7 separate regions of the Homo sapiens genome follow, and all the other regions are linked to region 2. The links are contacts of gene promoters, found by promoter capture Hi-C in blood cells and fetal thymus (Javierre and others, 2016). All regions are on one chromosome and are shown on one strand. Each heading gives the region's core, a stretch centred on a gene start or on the middle of the fragment in contact. The rest is flanking DNA. Distances are from core to core; before and after follow the strand shown. Region 1 overlaps ACADL (acyl-CoA dehydrogenase long chain). Region 2 holds the start of MAP2 (microtubule associated protein 2). Region 3 overlaps RPE (ribulose-5-phosphate-3-epimerase). Region 4 overlaps PTH2R (parathyroid hormone 2 receptor). Region 5 overlaps PTH2R (parathyroid hormone 2 receptor). Region 6 overlaps KANSL1L (KAT8 regulatory NSL complex subunit 1 like). Region 7 overlaps PTH2R (parathyroid hormone 2 receptor).

Region 1 (3,943 bases), core at 193-2,692, 780 kb after region 2:
TCCCTTGATAAATCCTTTCATTCCATTTTCCACCAGAAAAAGGCTAATACCATGGGCAGGGGAGGGAGCTTCATGATTTGTGACCGCAACTACAATCACAACATCACTTAATGACCCATTACTGATGAACACCTGCAAAACCCCAAGTACATTATTAATGCACCATGATAATTCAATTCTATGTGCAAGTTATGATTGGGAGAAAGTATATTACAGAAAACTAAAACAGACAAGACATGCTTGATACCTCTCTCTGTACCCTACCCAAATATCTGCAAAGTTGATTATTCACACATGATGTTATCAAGGATCAGGGGAAAAATTACTTAATGCTTCAAAGAATGAAACCTATAGATTTTCTTTTCACTATTAATATTATACATAATAATAATAAACAGAGATTATTATGTTCTTTAAAAATGAAACCAAATTGTCTATTATGATGATAAATTGTATTTTAGAAGGAAGCCACTGATAAGAAAAGAAAATCTGGCCGGGCCCGGTGGCTCACACCTGTAACCCCAGCACTTTGGGAGGCCGAGGCAAGAGGATCATTTGAGCTCAGGAGTTCAAGACCAGCCTTGCCAAAATAGTAGAGACAAAAAAATTAAAAATTAGCTGATGTGGTAGTGTGCACCTATATATAGTCCAAGCTACTCAGGAAGCTGAGGCAGGAGGATCGCTTGAGTCCAGGAGTTTGAGGTTACAGTGAGTTATGATTGTACCACTGCACCCCAACCTGGGTGACAGAGTGAGACCCTGTCTCTAGAAAAAAAGAAAAGAAAATAAAAGAAAAATAAAAAGAAAGAAAATCTGCTGTAAATGGCACTATATTATTTATTCTCAGATTTATCAGTTTTTGAAAAGGACTATTTTTGATTTTTGTAATTGATATCCTGCTTCCTTTAAAATGGTCTAAATAGGAAACTATGATTAAGGAGGGAAAAATGACAAGCCAAATGAGAGGGATTATCAGATGATATTGATACAGAAAACAGTATACTCAGAGCAAATATTAATAATTATCTTCTCATTCTGCATCTTTCCTGGTTCATCTCAATCATTTTCACGGCTTGAGTCACCCTCTACATGCTGATGTCTCCAAATCTTTATTTAAGCCATGTTTCTTTTCTTTTTTTTAGAGACAGGGTCTCTCTCACCCAGGCTGGAGTGCAGTGGTGTGACCATAGCTCTTTGCAGCCTCAAACTCCTGGTAAGCCACATTTCTTGATAGGACCTGGACCTGAATAAGTACTTGCTTCTGGATAGTTCCACCTGATGACTCATGGGCAGGACATATTCCTTCCCACCCCTACTCCTATCCAATCCTGATTATCAACCTATTTCCCTATCTCAATGAATGCTTCAATAAATTACATTATCATCCTGCTTCATATTCAATTCAGCATCTAGTTTTTTCTAACCCATCTTAATACTTTTGGAATTTATTCACTTCCTTTCAAGTCTATTGTAATTACCTTATTTCCAGCCCTCATCATTTCTTAAGTTCCTACAACTGATCTCTCTACAGCTGTATCATTCATCATGATGTCAAAGAGATTTTTCTAAATGCAATCTGATCATATCACCTTCACACTTAAAAATTTTTGAATAGCTCCTAATAGGCTTCAGGATAAATTCAAAACCTTTAGCAGGAAATAGAAAACTTATCACAAACTGGCACTAGCTTACCTCTCCTTACCTGGCTTATTGCTTGTCCCACTTTCCCCAATTTCCTCTTCTTCAGTCAGCTCTACTAAACTACTTGCTGTCCATCACGTTGCGAGGTCTTCCTGACCTATGAGTCTTTGAAAATCTTGTTTCTGCTACTTGGGAAAGGCCCTTTCCCAACTCTGCTGCAATGAATTGTACTCATCCTGGGTGGTTTAGACATCAGATTGGCCAAAAGGTCTCAAATTCTCCAGGCTGGGTTAAGCGGTCCTACAACACCTCAAATTTACCAAAATGATCTGTTTTTATCTCTCTCTCTTTGAAATAGTAGGGGTATAAAATGATGTTGGTTACTCCCATCACCTAAAATGCACAGCACTGATACATACAAATAATGAAAAATGGGCAAATAATGTTAGTGTTGTCTACACAACAGCAAATGAATATAGTGGTGGCAGTATGGTTATAGGTGACACAATAATAAAAGATCATCAACGTGCCTCCTTACTAGGAGCTCATAGCCATTTCCTATTCATATATCTATCTTAAGTGCTTAGAATTCTTTTTGGCACAGAGGAGGCCAAAGGATGTTTTAAAAATATATTTTGAAAAAGATGTTCCTCAAAAAAATTCTATACAACTTGGCAAAAATATTTTTTCAACAGTATTGCTCCATTACACGACTCCCTTGCTCAAAAACCTTATAAGTCTACCAAGCTCCTACCTTTCTGTCTAGTTCCTAATGTCTGTATAGCTGCCACAGTTGAAATGCTATGAGTGCTTTTTTGTTTGTTTTGCATCACACAGCATCCAGGAATTAGTATCTACAGTATGCTCTCAAATGGTCTCATACATGTTTTAACTACAGATAATAAATAAACAATGGAATAGAAAGGAAGGGAGGAGAAATTCATTGGGCAAAAACTATTCATTTTAATATGCTGAGCTCAATTTGGTAAATCAAGTGGAGTTCTCCAGAAGTTCTTATTGGAAGTAATTATAGCAAAGGATTAATAAAATCTGAACCATTTCTACAACAGTGCGACCTAAAGTGAGTTTAAACACCATGGTGGATCCCCCTTTCTAATAGAGTTATATGAGAATTTTCCTTGCAAGTGGACTTTCTCAGTTTGTTTCCTAATTATGACACTCCAAAGTTTGAATAGGGCTGAAATTATCCCTAATGAGGGCCAACATTTTTGGGTGGTAGGAGGATATTAAATGCTTATAAAATAACAGAAAATCATTGCAGATATTGTATAGAGAATGTAAAGTTCAAAAGAAAAAGGAAAATATAATTCTCCATAAGTACATAATACAACTATCATTGATAATTTCCTTTCTCATATTTTTAAATTTTAATATAGTAAAAATGTTCCTATACTTGCATTCTATATCCTGTTTTTTCACTTAATGTATAATTATTTCCTGTACTGTTAAAAACTTTGTGTTGCTAGTGTTAATGGCTGCACATTCGTTCAGATGCACCGTATTTGCTTACCCATTCCTTTACTTTTACTTGCTTTCAGTTTTTTGCTATTTCTAATAGAGTTTTTGAAACAGAGTCAGTGGTACTTTTCCTGTGTGGTTCCCACAAAACCCTATGGCTGAGCAGACGAGGTCTGCTTAGAGAGCTAGAGGCATAAGAGAATGTGGTTCCCATTTCACTTCTGACCAAATATCCCACTCCCCTTTCAAAACAAGCCTTCTATATGTGAGGAGTTAACTGATTATATGTTGGAGCTATCATCCGTTTAATTATAATTCTTAGGAGAAATTATTTAAACAAATATTTATTAAAGTATATTTGAAGAACACCAGTGATTCAATTTTGTAAATACAGAGATAATAGCCCAAACTTATAAAAACTAATTCTTCAACAGACCTTGGCACATATTTTCAGAAAGATTGTTTTAGAACAGTAAATAAAATGAACATCTTTCCTTCACGTAACACTCAGTCAACAACAAATATTTACTGAGTATATACCAGATACCATTTCAGGTGGGCAATATCACTTGCCCTCAGTGATATCAAATGCATTTGCCCTCATTGATATCAGAGATCCTGAGCCCATTTGTAACCTTAATTGGAAGCGCTCTCCAATTCTACCAGTGAGTTGATTAATTTAGTAGAACTGAATGGTTCTCAAATGGCTCTCAAATTCTATCACTGTATCACTGATATCTTTTTCTCCTAGGATCTTTTTTTTTTTTCTTTGAGAGGGGGTCTTACTCTGTCTCAACCTCCTTGGCTCAAGTGATTCTCCCTC
Region 2 (3,874 bases), core at 288-2,787:
AGTAAGGCCATCTTCCGAGGAGGAGCATCAACTCCTCCAACCTCCCAGCTCCTGGGTGTGCCTTGATACTTCCAAACTCACTGCAAGCGTCACTGGCACATGGTATGAAGCAGAGCGGGGGAGGCAGGACACAGAGCACTGGGTGTGACTGGGGAGGGCAGGCTTTCACAGCTTCCTCTGTGATGGTTTCTAATCCTTGCAGGCTCCCACCATTGGGTCTCTTTCCATCTGAAAATGGAGGAAATTAGACCAGCTGCCTAAAACATCAACTCTAATGTTCTAGGTTCTAAGATTCTGTGGTTAATTTAAGTGACAGAACCACATTATGGCTGCTGTTTCATCAGCACTGTGAAGACTGTACAAGCCACACCTCAGTATGTTGGCTGACCTTAAAAACACCTTGTCAGTACTTGATATAGACACTCGAAGTAATTCTAAGTTGCATCTTACTTTTCTTACTTACAATAAAATGCTGCTCTCTGATTATGAAGATTCATACTCCTTAGTACGAATGGTAAAGAATCATTTGTTTTCTCAGGTGGTCATTTCACTTTCAAAAGCATTTAAGAGGCAATTTTTTTAAGGGTGATATTTCAAGGTCAACACTTTCCGTGCTTTCTAATTCATTGTATTTGTATCATTCTTCAAAGATCCTTCATATTCATTATCTTTTTAAGCATAAGAGAATTGGGCTGTCATTTTTAGTTCTCATATGACACATGAATACACTGAGAGTTAGATTAAGTGAACTGTCTCTAGAGCATACGTCTGGCTATCTAGAATGTAATAACTATAAAGGGAGGGGATCTTTCTTATTAGGGTTGTGGGAAAGGTCTGTCACTGATGTTTCTAATGCTTAGAAGAGTGCCTGACACATAGTAGGTGTCAATAAACATTCGTTGACTCAATAAATGAATGAATCTAATTCGTGACAGAGCTGGGTCTAGAATTCTCTACTCCCTCAGCCATTGCTCCTTTAGTGCTGACAAGAGTTGTTCTATGTTCTCAAGCGCCCCACATTCCTTTGTCTTTTCTGGATGCACCTGTGGTTGGGTTTGTGAGGCGAGGCCAGTGAGCTTTCCTGGTGAGGTGCCACTGGCAACCCCGCCTCATAGCGACACAGGGGAGGGAAGCAGGGGGTCTGCGGAGGTTGCTCCCGAGAGACTAAAGCTGTTGCCCCCGATTTTCCAAGGACGCCAGTGAGGAAGGCCCGCCTGTCCCGCCGCCCGGGCACTGGCCTCACTTTGTCGCGGGAGGGGACCAGGGCTCTGGAGAAGGCCCGGGCCAGCGGCTGGGCGGGGCTCTCCGAGGCTCCCACCTCGCGGTCCCCGCCTGGCGGCCGGCGGCTGCGGCAGAAGGCGAAGCGGTCGTGCTCCCCCTCCCGGACACTGCGGCGGTGGCAGCGCCAGCCCCGCCGCGGCCGCCCACGGGCTCGCGGAGTCTGGCGGGACCTGCGCGGGGCGGGACCTGCGCGGGGCGGGGAGGAGGGGCCGAGGCGGAGCTGCTGCGCTGGGAGCCGGCTGGGGGCGCCGCTCTCAGTCTGGGGCGGGCGCTCGGGCTGCGCGGGCTCTGGGCAGCAGCAGCAGCAGCAGCAGCATCCTCTCTTCCTTTACTTCCCTTCCGCTTCTTTCTCTTCCTTCTCCTTCTTTTTCCCCCCCCTCCCCTTCTTCCCCTAACCCTTCTACCCCTCTCCTTTTTCTCCGGAGGGCGCTAAGTCCGTGAGCGGTGGCAGTCGCGACCGCGGGTGCATCCAGTTTCTGCGCCCAGGTAAGAGACCGTCCCCACCTCTGGCTCTATGTAGGGCGCCTCTCCTTTTGCCTCGGTCTCTGAGTAGAAAGAGATAGGAATGGGGAGGGGTTGTGTCTCGTCCTCTGGGACTCGCAGCAGGCAGTCTGGTAGTTGGTCGAGTGGCCAGCCGTGCACCTGGCGGAAGATTCGGGCCTGTCCTCTCCAGGTGTCACTGCGGAGCAGGGGGCCGGACGCTACTGGTACCTGAGCCCTGGCTTCGTAGAAGAGCGAGTGAGCTTGTTAGGTACCACTTTGAAACAACTGAAAACTTACGCCAGGTTAGAATACGTGTATCGAAAGCCAGTATTACCTGCGCTGTGGAAAGAAGGGGAGTGGATTCTACAAAGATAGTGGAAAATAGGAAATCGAGGTAGGGGATTTTTTTGTTCATCCAGCTGCAGAGAACTGCACACTGGGAAGTGAGTGAGTGAGGGAAGCCTTGTCCATTTCAAATCATGTTTCTCTGTAATTCCTTCAGAAACAGCTGGGAGAGGAGGACTGATATTTATAATTGTAGGAAAATGAAAAATAAATGCCTGGTGGTGTTGGAGGGCGGGGCACGAAGAAATGAGTCTGGTTAGGCTTCCACACAGTCGTTTTTCTTTTTAAACGTTGGGGGTGGACCTCTGAATCTACAGTGCATCTATTCTTTTCTTCCTTTTCTTTTTAAAAGGCTTTTTTGGTGGGGAGAGGAGGACTGCAGTGCTGGCTGCCTGCCTTCCCCCACCTCGTCTTTTGTTTAAGGATGGAAATTTCAAGAAAGAGTGTGTGGGGGGCTAGGAGTGGGGAGCTGTATATTTGGGTGTGTATAGGGGGAGGGGTATGGATGGAGTCAGAAAAAAAATCCTTGAAAACTGGAAATTAATGTTATTCTGCCTGGCATCCGGACTTCAGGATTTTTGTCAGAAAATAAAAAGCTTTCATTAGCAACAAGCCCGTTTGTGACAATTGCTGTGTGCCATCTGTCGTAAGCTCTTAGCACAATGCTTCCAGGACATAGACGCTTTAAAATTGAGTCCGGTGTAAAGGGTTTTTGTTTAAATGCCTAAACACACAAGTATGCACACAAATGTATAATACACTATATACATGTTACAAAAGGAAATAGGTACTTAAGAGACTGATTTTTTAAAATTGTATTTGAGGGTTTGGAAATTATGTTGTGAATAAAATCTGTAGTGCAAAACAAAAAAATATTGTTGGGTGGTATATAATTTTGGGTGTGAGGCAAAGGGATTGATGACTGTTGGTAAGGAACTAATTTAAATGTTAAAGGTATAATTTATTTTAAAATGATCAGTCTAGAAAAGGAAATGATTGCAAACTGAAATTGAGGTTTGCAGCCACAGTGAGGCGATGGAGAACAAAGCCTTCTATGTGAGCCACATTATGCAAAATGTCCCATGCATGAGCTGCAGGTACCAGCCCAGTTCAAAAGCATAGTTCTTTCACTATGTCATTTCACTGTGGACAATTATGATTTTTTTTGGCAGTCAAATAGATTGAATAAATAGAAGCCCTTTAGAATGCTTTTAATTTTATGCCCAGGGAAAAGATTACAGCCTTCCATCAGAATATAACACAAAGCAGCCCTTTAACCGGGCAATAGGTGTATTTTGGTAGAAATCCTTGTGAATTTGCAAATCATGGATGTTCCAAAAGCCCCAGCCCCATGCACACAAAGAACCCTTCCTTCAAGAAAAAAGGCATTTTTCTCATTCAGTAAGGATTATTATATTTGTGTGTGTATGTTTATGTTGATTTCCTGGTAATTTCATCTGATTATCATAGGTGTACATCTGCATTCATGATTTGTATATTATCAGAGCCATTGTGGCTTTAGGATCAGTGGTACATGCTGTTTATCTGTGGTTTATTTAATTTTAATTTTTCATATTTTACAGTTTGCTACAATATTATTTAATGTCCAAAGTTTTCTTTTTTAAAACCATAAGTAGAAAATTGCTTAACACACATCTGAAGATCTAAGTAATTTAAAAATAGAGCTACCTTTTATAAAATAATATTTTAGTTATATTAATTTTTATTTTATTTATCTCCTCTCTTATTTTTTTCCCTTTTCTAA
Region 3 (4,225 bases), core at 37-2,536, 580 kb after region 2:
AATTATACTTATATACTTTATTTTTGACATCTTTGCTTGAAAGCCCTAAACTGTCACAGGTAATAATACCCTGAGTGTCTACCTCAAAGGTAAGTAGCTACATTTTTGTGCCTGAGAAAATACCTAGAGGGTCACAGGATGGAACAGCTATGTGTATATTTGTGAGTCTATTTGAGCAATTTGGTTTTAATTAAACTATGTTTGAGTAAGTTAATGGTTGGGGAAAGTAATTGTTTCGGTTCACCAGTCAGGATTATTAATGATAACCATAGTAGCAATGTTTATGAGCACTTGACTGTTTCTGTTCTGGAGTTTTTTTGTGAATTAACTCAAACAACCGTTTGAAATTGGTGGTGTTATTACCACCAGCATTTGACAGCGAGGAATTGGGCACAGAGAGGTTAAGTCATCTGCCAGTGGTCTCATAACTAGGAAATGGTGGAGCCAGGGTTGGAAGCAATGCAACAGCTTGTGTTGTCTCAAATGAAATGCTTTCTGTGGTTCCTAGGCTTACAGGGAATGACTAAGACATTGTTTGGCCTCAAAAAAGCAACTAATAATTTGTGTATTTATTTCTGTTAACTGTATACTTATTTTTGTTAACTTATTTCATGTCTCTCCTGCTACCCTATAAGCTTCCTGAAAGCCAAGTTTATCTTCTTTTTGCTCACCTATATATTCTTTGCTGGAAAAGCACCATAAGGTGCTTAGTTATTGTTGGCCGAATGAATGAATAGCTTAATCATAATAGGAGAAGTCTCTCAGAAGTCACTTTTGTCCCCTTGCAGCTCTATGGCAGACTGAGCTCAGTAAGGCAAAGTATTTACCATGGATCAGAGTTTTGGGAACAAAAAAATAAAAAATGAAGTATTTGTTTTTTATTGATTCCTCTTCCCCTTTGCCAGGAGATACTTTGGTTTGGAAAAACTGAATTCTGCATACACAATTTTAAAATTATTTCCCTTTTAATCTTCTCTACTTTCTGAGTTAAGAGCTGTTTCTATTCCCCTTTTGCAAAGGAGGAAACCAGTGTAGGGAGATTCAGCTTCTTCCCTGATGTCTCACCAGATTCAGCAGAGCCTGGCAGAGTTGGTGCCAGTGCCCCTACGTGATGTGCTGTGGTGTCTACTAGGCTAGGGCTATGAAAGTGGGCTGTGGACTCCTTTTTGAAATGTGGCCAGCCACAATGTCCCTTCCCTCCCAGGACTGCCTTCGTGTTTTTTTTTTCCTGGCCCCTTTTAAAAATCTCATCCAACATTACACTTTGGATGTGCTTATTGTTTTCTAGTCTCCTCCCCACTAAGACCTCCAATTTCTCCCCTGATTACAACTGAATTTCTTCATTTAGAAAGTCAGAAACCAGTCTGGGGAATACTGTGGAAGGTGGAGCACTAGCATGACTGGATATGTGAAACAAAGGACAAGTGGATTCTCTGGGGGAAAAAAACCCTAGAAAACACATAAATGCATCATGACAGGACAGTGACTAGAATGTGTTCATCCTAACCATGGGAACAGAGCAAAGAATTAATTTCTAAATTCGCTACCAGGATTTAAAACTGGGACGATTTCACATTAATACTGCATTTCTGACTTTTGGGGGAAAAAAAAAAACAGTTCAAAGACTTGCTAGCACTGGGCCCTCAGTCTTACCAGGTGACATGCGCTGGAGCTGACAGGGGCAGCCTCACCTTTAGTCATGTGGGGTGTACTTCATTTGGCCCCTTTCCCTATCTGCTCTGTTTTGCTCTTTGATGTTACCTAACTCTCAGCAGCATTGAGTTTGTGATTCCTGATTCACAGGAAGATTGTGTTCTAGTTACAGTCCTGTACCTTTTATAGCAACTCTAATCCTCCTCTTACCATCTTTGCCTTGTTGGGAGATAGGGTAAATGGCTTGATCTGTCTGCAGTAGATTGTGTTAGAATTACGTAAGTAAAGCTTAGGAGTGATGATGGAACATGAGAGAGAAAATTGTATCCTTGTATTACAAAAAATTATAGTGTAATTCCAGTAAGTCCCTGGAAGAAAGGGATACCTTTTTATTTTATTTTATTTCTTTCACACTTAACTAACTCCAGGAAATAACTTAAAGGAAAAAGAGGCAGAATAAGATAATGATGAAGCAGACTTTTTAGTGAAGTTTCTCTCTGTTAAGTGAAATAATTAAGTGTTTTCCAAGCTGGTCTGTTAACTCCCTCTGGCATTTGTTCAAAATTCAGATTCCCGGTCCTCTTTGGAGTCAGTAGGCTGAGGTAGAGACTGTAAATACATTAGAACTGCTCTCATGGTTACTGTTTGGCAAATTTGGGACACCCTGACTTCGTGCTTAGGATTGTAGCCCCTTTTTGTTATGGCTTAGCGTAGCCTTTGGGTTTTTTTTTGAGACTACTGATGCATTCTTGTTCTTCCAATATACTTCGTGAACCTAGTGCATTGAATTGATTTTCAAAAGCACAAATTAAGTCACGTAACTTTGGGGTTAGTATTTTTATACGTTTTGTTTAGGTTTTCCCAAAAAAGTAAAAGTGTATTTTTTTTGGTTCTTTTATTTACTCGGGAGGTGGTTATTATACTTTTATTTTCATAATAAATGAAACCTACTGTTAAGACAACGAAACTATTTCCCAGACTACACAGCAAATTAAAAGAACAGTATGTGAAATTCAGATCTTTAATTCCAGAATTGTAAAACATTCAATAGGCCTTACTGCCTGCTTCTGTGACCCTTATTTCAAGTTCTAAGTAAACACATGCATCTTATCCACAGCCCTGACAATCATTGCTCAGGCAAATGTTAGAATCACTTTTTTAATGATAGAAATTAAACCTCCAAAGACCAAGGTGTTATTGAGTGAAAGTGTCTGTTCCCATCCACCTTATGTGTCCCTCTCAGATGTGTCCTGAATCCTTACCTCTCTCTCTTGAATCTCTTCTCCGCTAGACTTTTTCCCCTTGTTTGTTTCGTTTGTTGTCATTATAGGGACAGATGAGCATAGTAGTTAAGAGTCTGGACTTTGTAGCCATAGTGCCTATGTTTAATTCCTGCCTCCAGCACTTACTGGTTGTGTGACCTTGGGCCTCTGTTCCTCATCTGTAAAATACAGTTAATAAAAGTACCTACCTCATAGGGTTGTTGTGAGGTTTTAATGATTTAATATACAGAAAGTCTTTAGAACTGTGTGTGGCCCACATATAAGTTTGGTTTTTATTAGCACTCATTCTACCTGTCATCTAACTGTGAGACCTTAAACATAGTTTGTATTTTAACTCCCCTCCCACACACCTAATCATTTAACAGATCCAATCAGTTTTGCCTGTCTTGTCATTCTTAGTGTTCCTTGCCACTTACCAAGTGGCAATTGCAGTCACCTACCCTCTTGTAATTTATTTCCCATCCTATCTTATTTATTAATATTTCTCACTTTAAGATCTTACTTCATATTTACAGCAGGACAAAAGTCCAGACACTGAGCTTGGCATTTGACACCTTTAATGTGATACTACCAACCTCCCATCTTTTTTTTACACTAGCCAAAGTTGGTCAATACCACTCTCCACGTCTTTGACTGTAACTTGCTTATTTCTGCTTTTGCTTCATTTTCAGCCTTTGTTTCTTTTCCCATCTTTATAAATCCTATTTTGTAAATCTCATGAACTTCTTTCTTAACGTTCTCTAATACTTGCTCTTATTTTATGTATGTTTTATCTATAATCACGTTACCTGCCTGTTATTGTATAGCTTTTCTTGTAATCCTCATATAGGATAATACCTGCTGCTTTAACAAAGCCCAGATTTCAGTAGCTTAGCATTCTAGTTTCTCATTCATAAAAGAGTTCAGTGTGAGTGTTATTCCATTCTGTGGCTCTTCCATTCTGTAAGGGCTTTGTTGGCAGAAGGGTAAAGTGGCAATAGGAAAGGAATTCTCCTTAACCTTCTGAGCTCTGCAGTGACACACTACTTGCACTCACAGTCTGGTGGTGAGAGTCACATGAGCCACTTGGATGTAAAGGGAACTGGGAACTGGGATGTAAAGTCACATGGGCCACTTGAATATAAAGGGAACTGGGAATGAAAAGGTTTGACTGAGTTGACATCCCACTGACAACTATACGATAGCAGTAGGGTTGTGAATTCTGGTGAGTCATTCATTAGCTGTCAATCTCTGTCATAGGAACTGTAGCGTATTTCCTTTACAAAACAGTATTCTGAAGCACCTAGTAT
Region 4 (4,190 bases), core at 631-3,130, 990 kb before region 2:
CAAATAATTGTGATTGATTTCTCAATTGTTTATGATCAGAGAATGTGGTCTGCATGATACTGAGTTTTAAAAATGTGTTGGGACAGCCGGGCACGGTGGCTCACGCCTGTAATCCCAGCACTTTGGGAGGCCGAGGTGGGCGGATCACCTGAGGTCGGGAGCTCCAGACCAGCGTGGCCAACATGGTGAAACCCTATCTCTACTAAAAATGCAAAAATTAGCTGGGCGTGGTGGCGCATGCCTGTAATCCCAGCTACTCAGGAGGCTGAGGCAGGAGAATCGCTTGAACCCGGGAGGTGGAGGTTGCGGTGAGCTGAGATCGCACCATTGAACTCCAGCCTGGGTGACAGAGCGACTCTCTGTCTCAAAAAAAAAAAAAAAAAAGTGTTGAGACTTAATGTCTTATAGTTTTGTCAATTTTGATAATTTTCCATGTGGTCTTCAAAGGTATGTATGCCCTCTAGTTTCTGAGTACAATGTTTTATAGTGTCCACTAGATTAAGCTTGTTAGTTGTGTGGTTCATATATTCTGCATCCATAATGATTTTTAAAATGTGCTTGACCTATTATTTTCTGAGATATATATATCTTAAAATATGCTACTATGATGATGAATATTTCAACTTTTCATTGAAAAATTCACTGGATATTTTTACTTCATATATTTTGAAAATATGTTAGGAGGTTATTTAAGTTTAGAAATATTAGATTTCCTGGTGAATTAAACCTTTTGTAGATATACAGTAGCCCTCTTTATCTCTAGGATACTTGTCCTTCATATTTAAAAAATATGTACAATTTAAAATTACTATATTTAAAAAAATTTAAAACACTAGTTTCCTTCTTTCTTGGTTAGTATCTGCCTTGTATATCTTTTCCAATCCTTTAAAAATGTTTTAATTGTGATAAAATATACATAGCATTAAATTTACCATTAAAATTTTTTTCATTGTACTGCTCAATAGTGTTAAGTATATTCGCATTGTTGTGCAATCAGTCTCCAGAAATTTTCCATCTAAATTGACACTCTGTACCCATTAAATAACAACTCATATTTCCTCATTCTTTTATTAAACTTTTCTGTATATTTACATTTCAGGAGTATCTTTTACAAACAGGACACACATAGAGTTTTTCTCATTATCCATTCTGATAATCTTTGTCTATTAACTGAAGAATTTAGCTCAACTACATTAATTGTAGTTACTAATATACAGTATTTGAGTTTAATTCTAAAATCTCATGTGGGCTGTCTGTTTCACCAGCTCTTCCTCTGCCCTTCCACTTCCCCAGTTCCAACTCTCTTTTGGATTGATTGAGACATTTTTCTCATTTTATTCCATCCCCTGCCACCGCCAACTAGTATGGAAGATATGTATTATATTTAATTCCTTTAGTGGTTATCCTAGAAATTTTTCACATATATTTAATTTCAGAAAGTTTAAAGTTTATCATTCTCTTCCTTTTTCCAAATAATAAACACAATTTGAGATACTTTAATTGCTTCCAAATTATATGCTCTTTAGTTCTACCTTAATTTTATGTTATTATAATTTTTCTTCTTTGAATAAAATGTCCTTTATTTATATATTTTTGAATCTTTATGTTAGAATATGTTTATAGTGATCTCAGTTTTTGTCTGTTGGAAAATGTCTTTATTTTGGTGTCAACCTTGAAAGATACTTTTTCTGGACATATGATCCTTGGCTAAAAATTATTTACTTCTATCACCTAAAGATACCATTTTTTTTTTTTCTAGCTTCCATTGTTATTACTGACAAATCAATTCTCAGCCTTTGTTGGTGATTAGCTTTTTCTGTCTGGCTTCTTTTTTTTTTTTTTTTTTGAGACGGAGTCTCGCTCTGTCACCCAGGCTGGAGTGCAGTGGCATGATCTTGGCTCACTGCAAGCTCCGCCTCCCGGGTTCACACCATTCTCCTGCCTCAGCCTTCCGAGTAGCTGGGACTACAGGTGCCTGCCACCACATCCGGCTAATTTTTTTGTATTTTTTGTTTTTTGTATTTTTTTAGTAGAGACGGGGTTTCACCATGTTAGCCAGGATGGTCTCAATCTCCCGACCTCGTGATCTGCCTGCCTCTGCCTCCCAAAGTGCTGGGATTGCAGGTGTGAGCCAGCATGCCCGGCCTCTGTCTGGCTCTCTTTAAGAACTCTTTAACATTGATATTCTGCAGTTTCACTCTGTATCTAGGTATAGATTCATTGGATTTCCTGAATCTGTACATCTGTATCTTTATTCGGTGATTGGAATGTTTTAGTTATTTTGCCTCTGAAATTTTGCTCCCCTTTATTCTCTCATCTCCTTCTGGAACTTTAAGAAGACAAATATGGGACCTACTCATACTACTCTTTGTGTGTCGATGTCTTATGTATTTTCCTTTTCTTTGTTTCTTTACTGCTATTTTGGTAATTTCTTCATATATATTTTCCAGTTTGCCAGCTCTTTGTTCAGCTTTGTCTAACAACTGTTCAATCCATCCATTAGTAAATTTTGATTATATTTTTATTTTCTGAAGTCTTCGTATTCAATTTTGATAGTCTCTTGCTCCTTCAATATTCTTTCAAATCTCTTCTTTTTTTCCTAGACATGCTTTATATGCTGCATATGATAATTGTAATATCTATAGACTGCTGGTCAATGCTGACCACCACACATGGTGGCTTATTTCCTTGTGTGTCTAATGATTTGTGATGAGCAACTCATGAGGTTCTTGTTTAAAGAACATTTCTTTAGAGAAAATTTGTGTTTGCAACTGCAAGGTGCCTAGATGAATTATTGACCTAAGTCCAATTTAAACTAAATTTAGATCACACATAAATATAGGCTTGTGGTTAGAAATGTTTAGAGAAGAATTTCCCCTCCACTGTTTTCTATTCCAACTCCAAATGTAGCCAAGAATGACACAAACCAATCTCTTTCTGAAGGATGGTTTTATTTCTTGCCCACCCACTTAGTGGGAGAAGTATCATCTTTTGGGGATACTGACTTTCTAGAGGGGTTTCCTGTTCAATTTCTCCACCCCATCAGGCCTCAGGCTCTTCTTTTGTTACCTGAACACCACCAAAACTCTAAGTAAACAGGTCAATAGAAGCCTCTAAGGTAAACCCCAAATGTAGAGCTTGCTGCTCCTATATTTCTGGCCTACAATTTATTCCTTTACTTTACAGCCAGCTAAGCCATATTTAAAGAAAGAAGGCTTTTACATTAATATAGCCTTTGTAGGTATCTTGTACTAAGAGGAAGCTTTCTGAATGGCTAGTCTAATAGTGTCTGAAAAGGGAATCACTCGTGCAACTTCTAAAGAATGCTGATCCTAATATCTTAGATATGGAAATCTACTAACAAAGAGATACATCATCATGAAAAAATTTGAAAGCATTATTATCTGTGATGGCTGATAAGCTGTTTTCTGTGAAATCTTATAAACTGTTGAGCTAGAAGGTATTTCAGAGATCACCTAGGCCAACATTATCATCGTCAGTGTCCCTTTAACAGTTCAACAAATATTATTATGTGCCCAGAGTAAGCTCTAAAAAGTATGAATAAGTTTCTGCCTTTTCCCTGTGGGGTTAATGGCTTAATAGGGACGGCAGGCATCTTTCAGGATGGTGTATAATTTTAACAACAGAGGTGTTTTAACAACTATAGAACCACTGAAGATGAATCTTAATTAATCAGGGAAGGCTTCCTGGAAGAATAATTATCTCATCTTAAAAGTAAAGAAGTAGGAATTAGATGTGATGAGAGGAAAGTAAGACTGTATTAGTCAAAGTTCTCCAGAGGAACAGAACTAATAGGATATAAGTATATGTGAAAGGGAGTTTATTAGAAAGAATTGGCTCACATGATCACAGGGTGAAGTCCCATGATAGGCCATCTGCAAGCTGGGGAAGAAAGAAGACAATAGTGGCTCAGTTAAGTCCAAGAGCCTCAAAAACAGGGAAGCCTTCAGTCCATGGCCAAATACCTGAGAGCCCCCAGCAAACCACTGGTGTAAGTCCAAGAGTCCAAAGGCCGAAGAACCTGGAGTCTGATGTCCAAGGATAGGATAAATGGATGGAAGCATCCAGCACAGGGGAAAGATGAAAACTCAGCAAGCCAGCTTATCCCACCTTCTTCCCCCTGCTTTGTTCTAGCCAACTGGAGGGTGCCCACCCTCAATGAGGGTCCA
Region 5 (3,870 bases), core at 883-3,382, 970 kb before region 2:
ATGTTGGAGGAAAGTAATAATGAAAACATTTTCTGGCATTTCTGAGTGCTGATCACATTCCAGGTACTTCATAATTTTGCAAATATTAAGTAAGTTAAAACTCATTATTAACTCTATGAAACTGAGGTCAGAGAAGTTGTGCTCAAGGTTGCACAGCCACGAATGGTAGAAAAGTACTTTGATCTCAGATATTCAGGCTCTAGAGGCATTCAGAAAACACTTACAGGCGGATGAGGTGTTTCTATTGAGATAAGTGGAATTTTTATTATATGTGAAGGAGTAGAGTTGAAGAGGGATTCTTTCTACAGTATCACTGATAGCTTCTCACTCTTCAGTTGATTTAACACATCTGGTAATCAAGAGTACACAGTGGAAAATGTCCAGCATACACTAGACAGTTTTTCTCTTATCTTCACTATGTCTAGCCTTTTGTCTTTTTACCTCAGAGAGGTAAAACTTCTAGTTCTTTCTGTTCTCTAAATCAGAAATAGGTTATCACCTACCATTAACTTTTCAACAATTCCCATTTTTTGTTGACATATAAGCTCATGCCTGTGTATTTGTATTGCATGTATACATGCAGTGTTGTCTCCTGGCATATGTTTTTCTCATTCACATGATAAAATTAAATATATCTGCATTTCATGGTGAAAACCATAACTACAAATGCTCTACCTTGTTAGTGCGTTTGAAATCTACTATTCTACCATATAAATCTTCCTTATCAAATTCCTGCAGCATTTAGTATGCATATTATATAATTATTCCTTTCTTATCTATCATCTTATTTCTCTAAATGTGCAAGTGTAACTGTCTCATTTTTCCAACAAACCATGAATTCCAAATGGGCATAAATGAAATTCCCTGTTTTACAGTAGATAACTCTTCAGTGCATGCTGATCAATTCTTCTGGATTCGGCTGACCATTTTTTCTCTCTTTGCTCCATATCTATTAAGCAATGATAAAGTTTGAGTTAATGCAAGTTGTGAGTTATAAGGAGGTGTGGTTTTTCTTCCATTCATGACTTGCAGCAGTCATTCTCAGCCTCAGTCTTCCATCTGTGAGATGAGAATAATATTCTTGGCCATGACTAATGCTGTGAGTTTGCAGGGGACAGATCTGAGAATTAGATGAGAGGCCATTATGAAAGGGCTTTGTAAACTCCAAATTTTAGACAAACAATAAATGTTACCTTCATTGTGCGTAAAGAAACAGTAACTTTTAAGGCCCGATCATTATATATAAACAGAAAAAAATCTTGACCGCCCATCTCCTATCATTCCTTATAAGTGTCTGATAGCTTGTAAGTCGCCCTTTACTTCTGTCTGACCCAAGTGCCTCCGGGGCTGACTGCAGGGAGGCTGCCTGGTAAAGGCTTTCAGTTGGCTCAAATGGACTTTGGCCAGAGCCCCCCAGTTGTCTGTGTTTCTCTTGAGGGGCTACATGATGAATGAACATGAAAAAATTCTTTTTTTTTTGGTATTATTTCTATTTAAATAATGATGAGAAAGAATAGGAAAAAGTAGAAAAGCATTCAGGTAACTGCGCTTTGCTCTCATGGTCAAGCTTATTGCTATGGACTGAATTATGTCTCCCAAAATTCACATGTTAAAGCCCTAACCCCCAATGTGACTCTATTTGGAGATAGGGTCTATAAGGACCTAATTAGGGTTAAGGAGGTCATGAGAGTGGGGCCCTGTTATGAAAGGATTAGTGTCCTTATAAGAAGAGATGCCAGAGAGGCTGGCTCTCCCTCTCTCTCTGTGCACACAAAGAAGAGGTCATGTGAGCACACAGTGAGATGGAGGCTACTTACAAGCCAAGAAGAGAGGTCTCACCAGAACAGGACCATGCTGGCACCCTGATCTTGAACTTCTAGTCTCCAGACTGAGAAAATAAATGTCTATTGTTTAAGCCACCCAGCCTGTGGTATTTTGCTATCACACGTCAAGCAGATTAACACACTTATGATAAAGAAAAGGTAATTTAAAGAGAGGCAGCTTTAACCTATATATGCAGTAATGCCAAGCATTCTTTTATGTTAATAGAGAACAATTTAATATCCACAGATTGTGTACGCTTTGTGACAGCAGTTCCCTTTTTGTTATCTCCTGGGAACTTTATTTAAGCCAATATATTGTTTTGAGTTACTAGATATTTCCTTCAGGAATTATTTTGTCTGCTATGCACTGAAAAAAAAATCACATACTGTGAATACCTAAACTCTATAAAGAACCTGTCACTCACTGTTCCTGAAAATTAGAACTGTACAGAGTCATTGTCTTTAGGTGCAGCCTTCCTCCTACTTGCTTCAAAGCTCCCCATTCATCAGCTTCCCTCAGTTCTAAAACTTGCTGGCTTTGCATTTTTCCTTACTTTGATCCCTTTATGCTATTTGAATTTGTTAACAATTGAGGGTTGATGTTATCTAATTGACATCATTATTGCTATATACACACAGTGAGATTGCAAATCTCAAAGAAAACTTGCAATACCTGTTACTTGATTTACATGGGAGGGAAGTTGCATCAGTAAAGAGGTACTAATTAATGCTATCATGATCATATTCTGAGATGTGTAACTGTATGACCTAGATTCAGAATTTTAGAGATGATAGGACTTAAGGCATTTTCTGGTTCAATCATCCCATATTAGAGATAAGTAAAATGTGATCCAGAGACATCAGGACACATTCTCAAAGCTTACCGCTAGACTGAAGCAGAATTTTGACTCATTCATTCAATTAGTTATATCATGTGACCACCTTGCAAAATATTCCACTTTCTTCCTAACTTATCAGAATAAAATCTTGAATTCTACAGTGCCCAGATCTGGGATAATTGGATGAAGGGTCATTTTATATTTAATTTTGCCTGTAAACATAAACTGTGTTGCCACTTCTCTGAGATGATTTCAAAATTGCCTGATTCAACTTCACATAAAATTCAGCTTTTCTATAGATAAAGTTTTTGTGGGTTTTCTTGGGTGTTATCTGACCTATATAGCGCCATATGACAACACTCTGGGGAGAGAACAGATTTTAAATATCTTCAAAGGATGAATGGGGTTCATATTCATGTCTTATATTTGAGACTCAATGTTTTCTAATCTGGCCTTTCAAAGTGAAACCTCTGATTTTCTCTGCATCTTGGCTATTTGGAGATAAGCATGTCAGACCCAGTTTTAAAAGATACCTTAAACTCTATTGATATACAAAAGAAGTCTCTTTCAGATTTAAAATTCTATTAGGTGTTATTTGGGCTGGGCAAGGTGGCTCATGCCTGTAATCCCAGTGCTTTGGGAGGCCAAAGCAGGCTGATCCCTTGAGGCCAGGGGTTCAAGACCAGCATGGCCAACATGGTGAAACTCCGTCTCTACTAAAAATGCAAAAAAAATTAGCTGGGCGTGGTGGTGCGTGCCTGTAATTCCAAATACTTGGGAGATTGAGGCAGGAGAATCGCCTGAACTGGGGAAGCAGAGGCTACAGTGAGCCGAGATCACGCCACTGCACTCCAGCCTGGGCAACAGAGGGAGACTCTGTCTCAAAAAAAAAAAGAGTGTTATTTTACTAAGGTCAGCTAAGATAATCAAGTAGGTTGGGCAAATTAAATTAAAAAGTGAGCAATTTTGTTCTCTTTCTTTTTACTTACAAAAGCAAAAACACCTTACACGGTAATCTGATTATCTTCTCTTTGCCTCATTCGAAGGAGATAAGAGATGCCAATGAGAGAAGAAACCCATAACTTCTTTGCTGTATTTTTGTTTCACCATCCAGCAGCAAAGGTGGGGGCTGCAAAGGACCAAGAAGCCATCTGACATTTCTAGAACATCTGCACAGGCTTTTGGGGTCAGCTTCTTTCGCTTCTTCT
Region 6 (3,717 bases), core at 1,122-3,621, 740 kb after region 2:
GGTGAGACCCTGTCTCTATTTAAAAAAAAAAAAAATATATATATATACACACACACACATATATTTTTATCCAAAACTAATTGGACGTATCCAGCTGATATGAAGAATTGGTCTTCATATCCAAGTGTATTCATTATTTATTACTGTCTAATATATTACCCCCAAATTTAGTGGTTCAGGTATATATATATATATATATATGTATATCAATAAAAATTAAAAAATTAAAGAACTTGTTTCAAGACAGAGTCAACAATGCTTGACAAAGACTTAACAGGAATTAAGGGAAAGGAAGGAATCAAGGATGACTCCTAGGTTTTTAGCTTGAGCAACTGGGTGGTCAGTGGTGCTATTTTCTGACCTAAGGGAGCAGACTTGGGGAGGAAGAAAGTTGAAGAAGAAAAAAATAAAAATTTCTGTTTTGGATATGTTACTTTTTAAGTGTCTTTTAAACATTCAAGTGGAAACAGCTATAAAAACAAGTCTGGAGTTCAAGCAAGAATTCATAATTAGAGAGATTATTTTGCAGAGTCACTGGCATATAAATAGTATTTACCCTAGGGAGTGGGTATAAGCAAAGAGAAAGGAGCCCAGGACAAAACGTGGGGGTTTACTCACATTTACTTGAGCAAAGGAAGAGGAGCTATAAAAGAGGAAGGACGCTAAAAGAAAACTGAAAAGATCATCGAGATAGGAGGAAATCCAGAAGTGTATGAAATCAAGATACCAACGTGTTTAGAAGTGTATAACATGGTCAGTTCTGTCAAATGCTAAACAGGTCAAGCAGATGAAGATAGCAAAGCCGATATTACTTTTTAAGGAATGTATTGCTTTTAAAAGGTTACATATTAACTAAATATCCAACTCCAGCAGCCTCTAGCCATTCTATCCTACCTAAGCAGGGAAAAACTGAGAAGCACTAGTGAAGTTCACAGCCCAGGGCACAGGCTCATTGAAAGACAGACCTTATCACTGGAATACAGAACATCTTTTCTATCCTTACATCTTATTAAAAGCCTATTTACTAGAGTTCCTTTTACTCAGCACATCATGTTCAGCTTTCAAGAGAAAACGACAAGGCACACTAAAGGGCAAACAACATAGTTTGAAGAGACAGCAAGCATCAGAACCAGATTTAGATATGGCAAGAATGATGGAATTACTAGACCAGGAATTTAAAACAACTATGATTAATATGCTAAGGCCTCTAATGGAAAAAACAGACAACATGCAACAAATGACAGGTAATGTAAGAAGAGAGATGGAAATTCTAAAAAGAGAATAAAAATGAAATGCTAGAAATCAAAAACACTGCAACAAAAATAATGTCTTTGATGGGCTTAGTAGCAGACTGGATGTGGTGGAAGAAAGTAGCACTAAGCTTGAAGATACAGCAATAGAAACCTCCAAAACTAAAAAGGAAAGAGAACAAAGATGGCAGGGGGTTTGAGGAAGAAGAGACTATCCAACCAAGAACTGTGGGACAATTACAAATGGTGTAACATATGCATAATGGGAATACCAGAAGGAGAAGAGAAAAAGAAAAGAAAATTGAAACAATAATGACTAAGAATTTCTCCAAATTAATGTCAGACACCAAACCACATATCCAGGAAGCTCAGAGAACACCAAACTATCACTTAATAAATGAAGAAATATATAAAATTATATTACATGAAATTTTATATACAATAGTATACTTATAACAAATGATCCATTTAAAAATTTTTACTAGAAATTACTTCATCACATATTTTCCCCAAATAGATCAAAAGCTACATGAAGGCAGGTGTTATGTGTTCACTCATCATCGTATTCTAGAATATTTTATGGCACATAGCAGGCTCATAATAAATATTTCTTGAACAAATACTATCCAAAATGGTAAAATTATTTTAAAATTTCAAGGAAGAAGGTTCATGAGATATATTTTATTGTGAAGGAGTCTCAAGGCAAAAAAATTAGGAAACATTAGTATAGAATGTAACTGTCCAATAGAAATATGAAGTGGCTACATATGTAATTTTAAACTTGCTACTACTAGACATATTTTTAAAAGAAACATGAAAAATTAAATTTAATGTCATCATATATATAAAGTATCATATATCAACATGTAATCAATACATAAACATCTTGATAAGCTATTTTCTATTCCTCTGTATGTGTGCCAAGTCTTGTAACCAGGGATCAACTATCGACTACTATATTTCAGTCCCCCAATTTTTTGGCCAAATCTATTGTTTAATATTTTTAGGCACCTATAGTATTCTAGGCTTTATGGAAAGTTTATGGAAAATAAATCCTCAAATAGCTTTCTAAAAAGCACCTGGATCTTCCTATAAATACTCAGTTTCTAATTATTTAGGTTTCCAATTATACACATAATTGGGCAGGAGTATTTGGATCCTTGCTAAATCTAAGAAATGTCTTTACAACTACTAAAATACTTTATTATATTACTCTAGGCACCACCATCATCTTTGATGATTATTTCTTTCATATACACCCAAGATACTTAGGAACAAGAGGTCCCTTTTCTAAAAGAATTTAGTCTAATGATGCAGAACTTCGAAGAACCTAGAAGGAAGAAAACTGGAAAAAAGAATTAAACTTTTTGTCACAACACACAGAAATGAAAATATCAAACTTACAGAATTTAAGAAGCAAAACTAAGTTATGAAAATATATCAGTCCTCTTTCAAAGAAAGCAACTAGATACATAATCTTGATTCTGTCAATAGGTAACAGTTCTAGATAATCCAAAAACCAACTATGTTTCTTGGGTATAAATTTTACTTTTATTTTTTCTGTTTTTTTTTTTTTGTTTTTTTTTGTTTTGAGATGGAGTCTCGCCCCGCCACCTAGGCTGGAGTGCAATGGCACAATCTCAGCTCACTGCAACTTCCGCTTCCTGGGTTCAAGCGATTCTCCTGCCCCAGCCTCCCAAGTAGCTGGGATTACAGATGCATGCCACCATGCCCAGCTAATTTTTTGTATCTTTAGTAGAGATGGGGTTTCACCATGTTGGCCAGGCTGGTCTCGAACTCCTGACCTCGTGATCTGCCCACCAAAGCACTGGCATACTTTTACGTTTTTACAACAGAATTTTCAACTTACATTCCAATTTTACTAAAAAAAAAACCAAAAAACAAAAAACAAAAAAAATTCCTTAGCACATCAGCAGCCCAGAAATGTTATGGATGGCAAAACAAAACAAAAACCAGTCTGTTATAAAACTGTTACAGATAGTCTATCAAGTAAATAATCCTCCAGTAAGCAATTCCAAACTCAGTGTATCTCCGGTTTTTTTAAGAAGTCTTATTAAAAAACACCAGAGAGAATTTCAGTAAGACAAGACAAAGCTTATGTTTTTAAATAATAAACATTTTTTAAAACTAGAAAGAATCAATTTTTTTGTTTTTGGTTATATTAAATTTGTTATAAATAAAATTAATCTAATAAAAACAAGGGGGGATTGTAAAGTTAAATCTACACCATAAATTCTAATTTTTAGACTACAATTTAATCCAAAGAACAATCACTGTGAATTAAGGCATTAGTTGCTATTAGTTGCTCTGAAATTATTATAAATAAAATTAAGTTAATCTGATAAAAACAATAGGTAGACTGTAAAGTTAAATCTATACCATAAATTCTAATTTTGGGTCTACAATTTAATCCAAAGAACGTTCATTGTGAGTTAAGGAAAGCATG
Region 7 (4,041 bases), core at 217-2,716, 950 kb before region 2:
AGATAACAAGTCACCTTTGCTCCAGTTCGCAACAAGTTCCTCACCTCCAAATCTCATCTTGAATTCCCACATGTTGTGGGAGGGACCCAGTGGGAGGTAACTGAATCATGGGGTCACTTTCCTGTGCCATTCTCATGATAGTGAATAAGTCTCATGAGATCTGATGATTATATAAGGGGAAGTTTCCCTGCACAAGCTCTCTTCTCTTGTCTTCCACCACGTGAGATGTGCCTTTTACCTTCTGTTATGATTGTGAGGCATCCCTAGCCACATGGAACTGTAAGTCCATTAAACCTTTTTTTTGTTTTCAGTCTCAGGTATGTCTTTATCAGCAGCATGTAAATGGACTAATACAGTCTTCCTTTGTCTCTTAACAAAGTTAATCTCCTATATTTTATTAATCATCTGATGAATAAATGTTTGAGTCTGTTTTTGTTTCAAGCATATTTCAGAGTCTTTTTTTGCATTAATCCTCAAATAACTTTTAAGTAGGTATTTTTATTATTCCCAGTTTGGGTTCAAGAAAGGTTATGTAACTTGCCTGAGGTTATACATTTAGAAAATGCTGAAGCCAAGGTCAAACCCAGGTAATGCCATGCCAGAGCCCACAGTTTTTGCTCTTTCTTGCCATAGGATTTAAGCTAGAGCAGTGTTTCCTTATGTAGGGGCACATACCCTGGTGCATGAGAGGACTTAGGTGGTATATGCAAGGTCATTAAGCATTATTGAATCATATATGAATATTGGTCCATTTCCAACCCTTCTGAACACATCAAGGAGAAAGTTTTATTTTGGTCCTGGTCTTGAACAACACTCACATGTGTGGTGTCTTTCTTTGGGGGTAGGGGGAGGTAAGACAGGCAACCCAATCTAGATAACATTTCATAAGGCTTTTTGTTTCCATCATATGTATTTCACAGTTGTCTTTTATTTATAAAAGCTTCTACTGGTTCTTTATTTATGTTTAATGGTATGAAATATGAATTTTAATAATTTAATGAAAGTTGATTGAAGAAAGATATGAAGTAGGCAATAGTAGGTAAATAATATCAATATGGCAAAATCATGATGATGGCACCCTAAATGACTTATTTGGAGAACACTGGACTGGACAAATTCCTTTAACAATGAAACCTGAAATTACACAAAAGTCCTGGCCAGTGTAAGCAGTGGGTGTTCACATGGTTGTGGGAGGCTAGTTGTGTTTCATGTGATCAGACACTTTAGAAGTGTACCGTATTGCATTTTACTTACTAGCTCTGTCTTCCCTGTGTGCTCCTCATGGGGAGGGATGATCTATTCTTTTATTTTCCTAGAATGCCTGACCTTTATTGGTGCCTAGGAAATATTGGCTGAATGAAAATATAAATATATATTTAATGATATTACTTATAGTGGATCATAAGATTATATGATAAGCATGCCACATGTAGGTACCTTACAATCATTTAAAATATAGTTTTCTTCATAGTTAACTGGCATAAATATATCCATATTATTGTTTCAATTTTATAACTGACAATACCGGCACACAGAGAAGTATGTGACTTAGAATTATAGGGTTTTGGAGCTGGGGGTATCTTAGATTTTGTTGAGTCTTACTAACTTTACTAGTCTACAAGCAGTCAAACTCATATCCAAGGTCATACAGGTCATTAGCAGAGGAGGTGCAACTCATAATAGTTTTTATTATAGGGTTGGTAGTTGTGTGAACAAGTGTATGAATCCTGTGTGAACTCTTAACCAGTTGCTGACTGTACTATGATTTAGCCCCTTTTAAAATGAAGTTTTCTAAAAAGGAAATTGGATATTGTAATATCTACTTCATAGGGTTATTAGGAGGACTATGTAAGATTATTAAAGGGCTTAATATAACCTATGAAAAGCATTCAGTAAATAGTAGCCTATAATACGGCAGTAATACTACTACTAGTGGTAGCGTGGTAATAGTAGAGGTGTAGTAACAGAAATGGTGGTTCATGTAGTAGTGATATAAGCTTATCCAAGTCTTTCTGACGCCATCATGAAGTTCAGAATAGGGAAGAGACAACACCAAACTCTGTCTGGAGGGCTTAATAAAGGAAACACCAAGAAGGTGAGATTTGAACTAAAATTATAAAGGAAGACTAGAAATCACTTACCTAAATCACTTAATAGGTAAAGCGCAGAGAAGGGTTTTCCCGGCATAGAGATTAGCCCATGCCAAGTGGGCATGTTATGTTTTCTATGGCTGGAAGGAACAATGCATCTGCAGAATATGCAGGAGATCAGACTGTGGAGTTTGATGGGAGTGGACTCACATGTCATGCTAAAGCACATTGGAATTTTCCTTAAAATTGTGATGAGACATCAAAATATTTTAAGCAGGTTAGTAAGTGGGTCAGATTTGGGTTTTAAAAAGAAAACTCTAGAGGTGTTATGATGGATGGAGAAGATGAACTAGCTTGGAGACGCAAATGTCTAAGAGAGGTACTATTCACCTTTAAGTGCATAGTCCTGTTTGATTGATTCTGACATCTGTATGAGAGACTGTACTCTTGATGCAACCTTCTAAGAAAGAGACAGGAATTAAAGAGTTTTATTAAAATGGTAACAACTGTAAATAACTGTCAGCTGCTGATGTGAGTAATGGAAGGAGATCAGTGCTGCAGCAGCTGGTGAGCTTGGGCAGCAAGCGTGATGGCAATCCATGGTTTTTGCTATTTGATGAGAGTTAGTCCCACATATTCCATTCATTTAAATCCATTTCTTTGGAGATGCTGTAAAGTCTCAAAATATTTTCCTTTATAATGAGTTGATTCATCTTAGCTGAATTAAAATGTGAAAATGCAACAAGGAGAACTTTTTTTTAAAGAACCAAGAAAAGGTAAATATTGTCATAAAATGTAAATGTATAACTAATTTAATGACATATCTTTTATATTTGAATAATAGAAATTTCTTCCAGGGTCACCTTTCTTATAGTACATACATCTAAGCTATGCTTACAGAATAGGAGTAATAAAAGAGAAAATCCTAAACTCAGTGTTTAAAGCAACCCTTAACTGGCATTAAAAAAACAAACACACCATAAAACCTATTAGGGAATTAGGGTCTGGCACTCATTGAGACTTTAGAATTCATATGCTTATTTTTTGCAGTAGTTCAGGCAGTAGTTCCTTTTCTGGCAACTCCATAAAAATAATTCATAGAATCAAAGAATGTTCAAGTTGGGAAGCATTTTGGGGATATCTTGTCCAATGTTTATCTGACAACATTATTGCAGAGATTTTGACCTTTAAATAACCCTCCAGAGAACTAACGTAACTGACACCTTGTGGTTTGCATTAGAGATGTTGATGGGTATTAGGAATATATGGGGCAGTGGAGATTCTTTCTTTTTCAGGTCACTTTTTATTGGCATATATTTACTTACTTTTAGATGTTTGTTTCATCATGCCTCACATCATCATTGTGTATCCAAGCTAAGAACTAATCTTTCTGGTCAATAAACAGTTTGTGGTGTTTATCATGGGTTTGCTCATTGTATCAGTAATGATCAAATTTGAATATTGAATGACATTGAATGACTAAGCAAGTAGGTGACTCCTGAGGAAGCTGCATACTACATAGAGTGCATTAAATACTGAGCTAAATTTTTTTTAAATAAATGTTTTGTTTTGCATACCTGTCCCAAGGTATCTTAGGGAGCTCTGGCAGAAGGAATAAGATGGTATTTCTAGTAAAGGCCTTTAGGAAATATTTTAGGTGATAAGTTTAAAAAATATTATATCTAGTGCACTTTTCAAAATATGAAAAGAAAGGGACAAACAAGGTACATGCTTCTCAGCTGCTCTTGGGTGAGTGATTCATTTTCTCCCAGTTGCAGGGAGAGGTGCAGTCACCAAAAACAAGGGTTGACTAGGAAGGAAGGAATTTTAAGAAAAATGGATAAAATTTAATCTCTGATCATTGACACAATTATAAATACCAAATTGATTTTTCCCCCAGAGAAAAATCTCCCCTTCAGAACTCCTTTTCTTTTCTAAGTCAGTTAGAAAT

What was found. The method cuts DNA at HindIII sites, captures the fragments that hold promoters and counts their contacts. A CHiCAGO score of 5 or more calls a contact.
Region 1: a fragment that was not itself captured here is called in contact with the fragment with the promoter of MAP2 in region 2 in 1 of 17 cell types (naive B cells); the score reaches 5.7 in naive B cells.
Region 3: a fragment that was not itself captured here is called in contact with the fragment with the promoter of MAP2 in region 2 in 1 of 17 cell types (total B cells); the score reaches 7.2 in total B cells.
Region 4: a contact is called between a fragment that was not itself captured here and the fragment with the promoter of MAP2 in region 2, in 2 of 17 cell types (M2 macrophages and M1 macrophages). The highest score is 6.9, in M2 macrophages.
Region 5: a fragment that was not itself captured here is called in contact with the fragment with the promoter of MAP2 in region 2 in 1 of 17 cell types (M1 macrophages); the score reaches 5.7 in M1 macrophages.
Region 6: a fragment that was not itself captured here is called in contact with the fragment with the promoter of MAP2 in region 2 in 1 of 17 cell types (total B cells); the score reaches 8.1 in total B cells.
Region 7: a fragment that was not itself captured here is called in contact with the fragment with the promoter of MAP2 in region 2 in 5 of 17 cell types (M0 macrophages, megakaryocytes, M1 macrophages and 2 more); the score reaches 6.9 in M0 macrophages.

The regions. Positions count from the first base shown.
Region 1 is chr2:210,205,665-210,209,607 of GRCh38, forward strand. It overlaps ACADL (acyl-CoA dehydrogenase long chain), which reads right to left. Exons shown (of 11, transcript NM_001608.4): 6 at 1-132. Among named protein-coding and RNA genes, the nearest start is that of ACADL, 18 kb to the right of the region's middle. The HindIII fragment of the contact is 5,476 bases long and covers 1-3,943 here.
Region 2 is chr2:209,422,510-209,426,383 of GRCh38, forward strand. MAP2 (microtubule associated protein 2) reads left to right here and starts at 1,538. Exons shown (of 16, transcript NM_001375505.1): 1 at 1,538-1,767. RefSeq lists a silencer at 1,219-1,608. The HindIII fragment of the contact is 4,087 bases long and covers 1-2,703 here.
Region 3 is chr2:210,004,030-210,008,254 of GRCh38, forward strand. The region is part of intron 1 of RPE (ribulose-5-phosphate-3-epimerase); the gene reads left to right. Among named protein-coding and RNA genes, the nearest start is that of RPE, 3.5 kb to the left of the region's middle. The HindIII fragment of the contact is 1,306 bases long and covers 634-1,939 here.
Region 4 is chr2:208,428,719-208,432,908 of GRCh38, forward strand. All of the region lies in intron 2 of PTH2R (parathyroid hormone 2 receptor), which reads left to right. Among named protein-coding and RNA genes, the nearest start is that of PTH2R, 24 kb to the left of the region's middle. The HindIII fragment of the contact is 2,759 bases long and covers 502-3,260 here.
Region 5 is chr2:208,452,697-208,456,566 of GRCh38, forward strand. All of the region lies in intron 8 of PTH2R (parathyroid hormone 2 receptor), which reads left to right. Among named protein-coding and RNA genes, the nearest start is that of PTH2R, 48 kb to the left of the region's middle. The HindIII fragment of the contact is 1,135 bases long and covers 1,566-2,700 here.
Region 6 is chr2:210,162,043-210,165,759 of GRCh38, forward strand. All of the region lies in intron 1 of KANSL1L (KAT8 regulatory NSL complex subunit 1 like), which reads right to left. Among named protein-coding and RNA genes, the nearest start is that of KANSL1L, 7.5 kb to the right of the region's middle. The HindIII fragment of the contact is 1,984 bases long and covers 1,380-3,363 here.
Region 7 is chr2:208,472,362-208,476,402 of GRCh38, forward strand. All of the region lies in intron 9 of PTH2R (parathyroid hormone 2 receptor), which reads left to right. Among named protein-coding and RNA genes, the nearest start is that of PTH2R, 68 kb to the left of the region's middle. The HindIII fragment of the contact is 1,057 bases long and covers 939-1,995 here.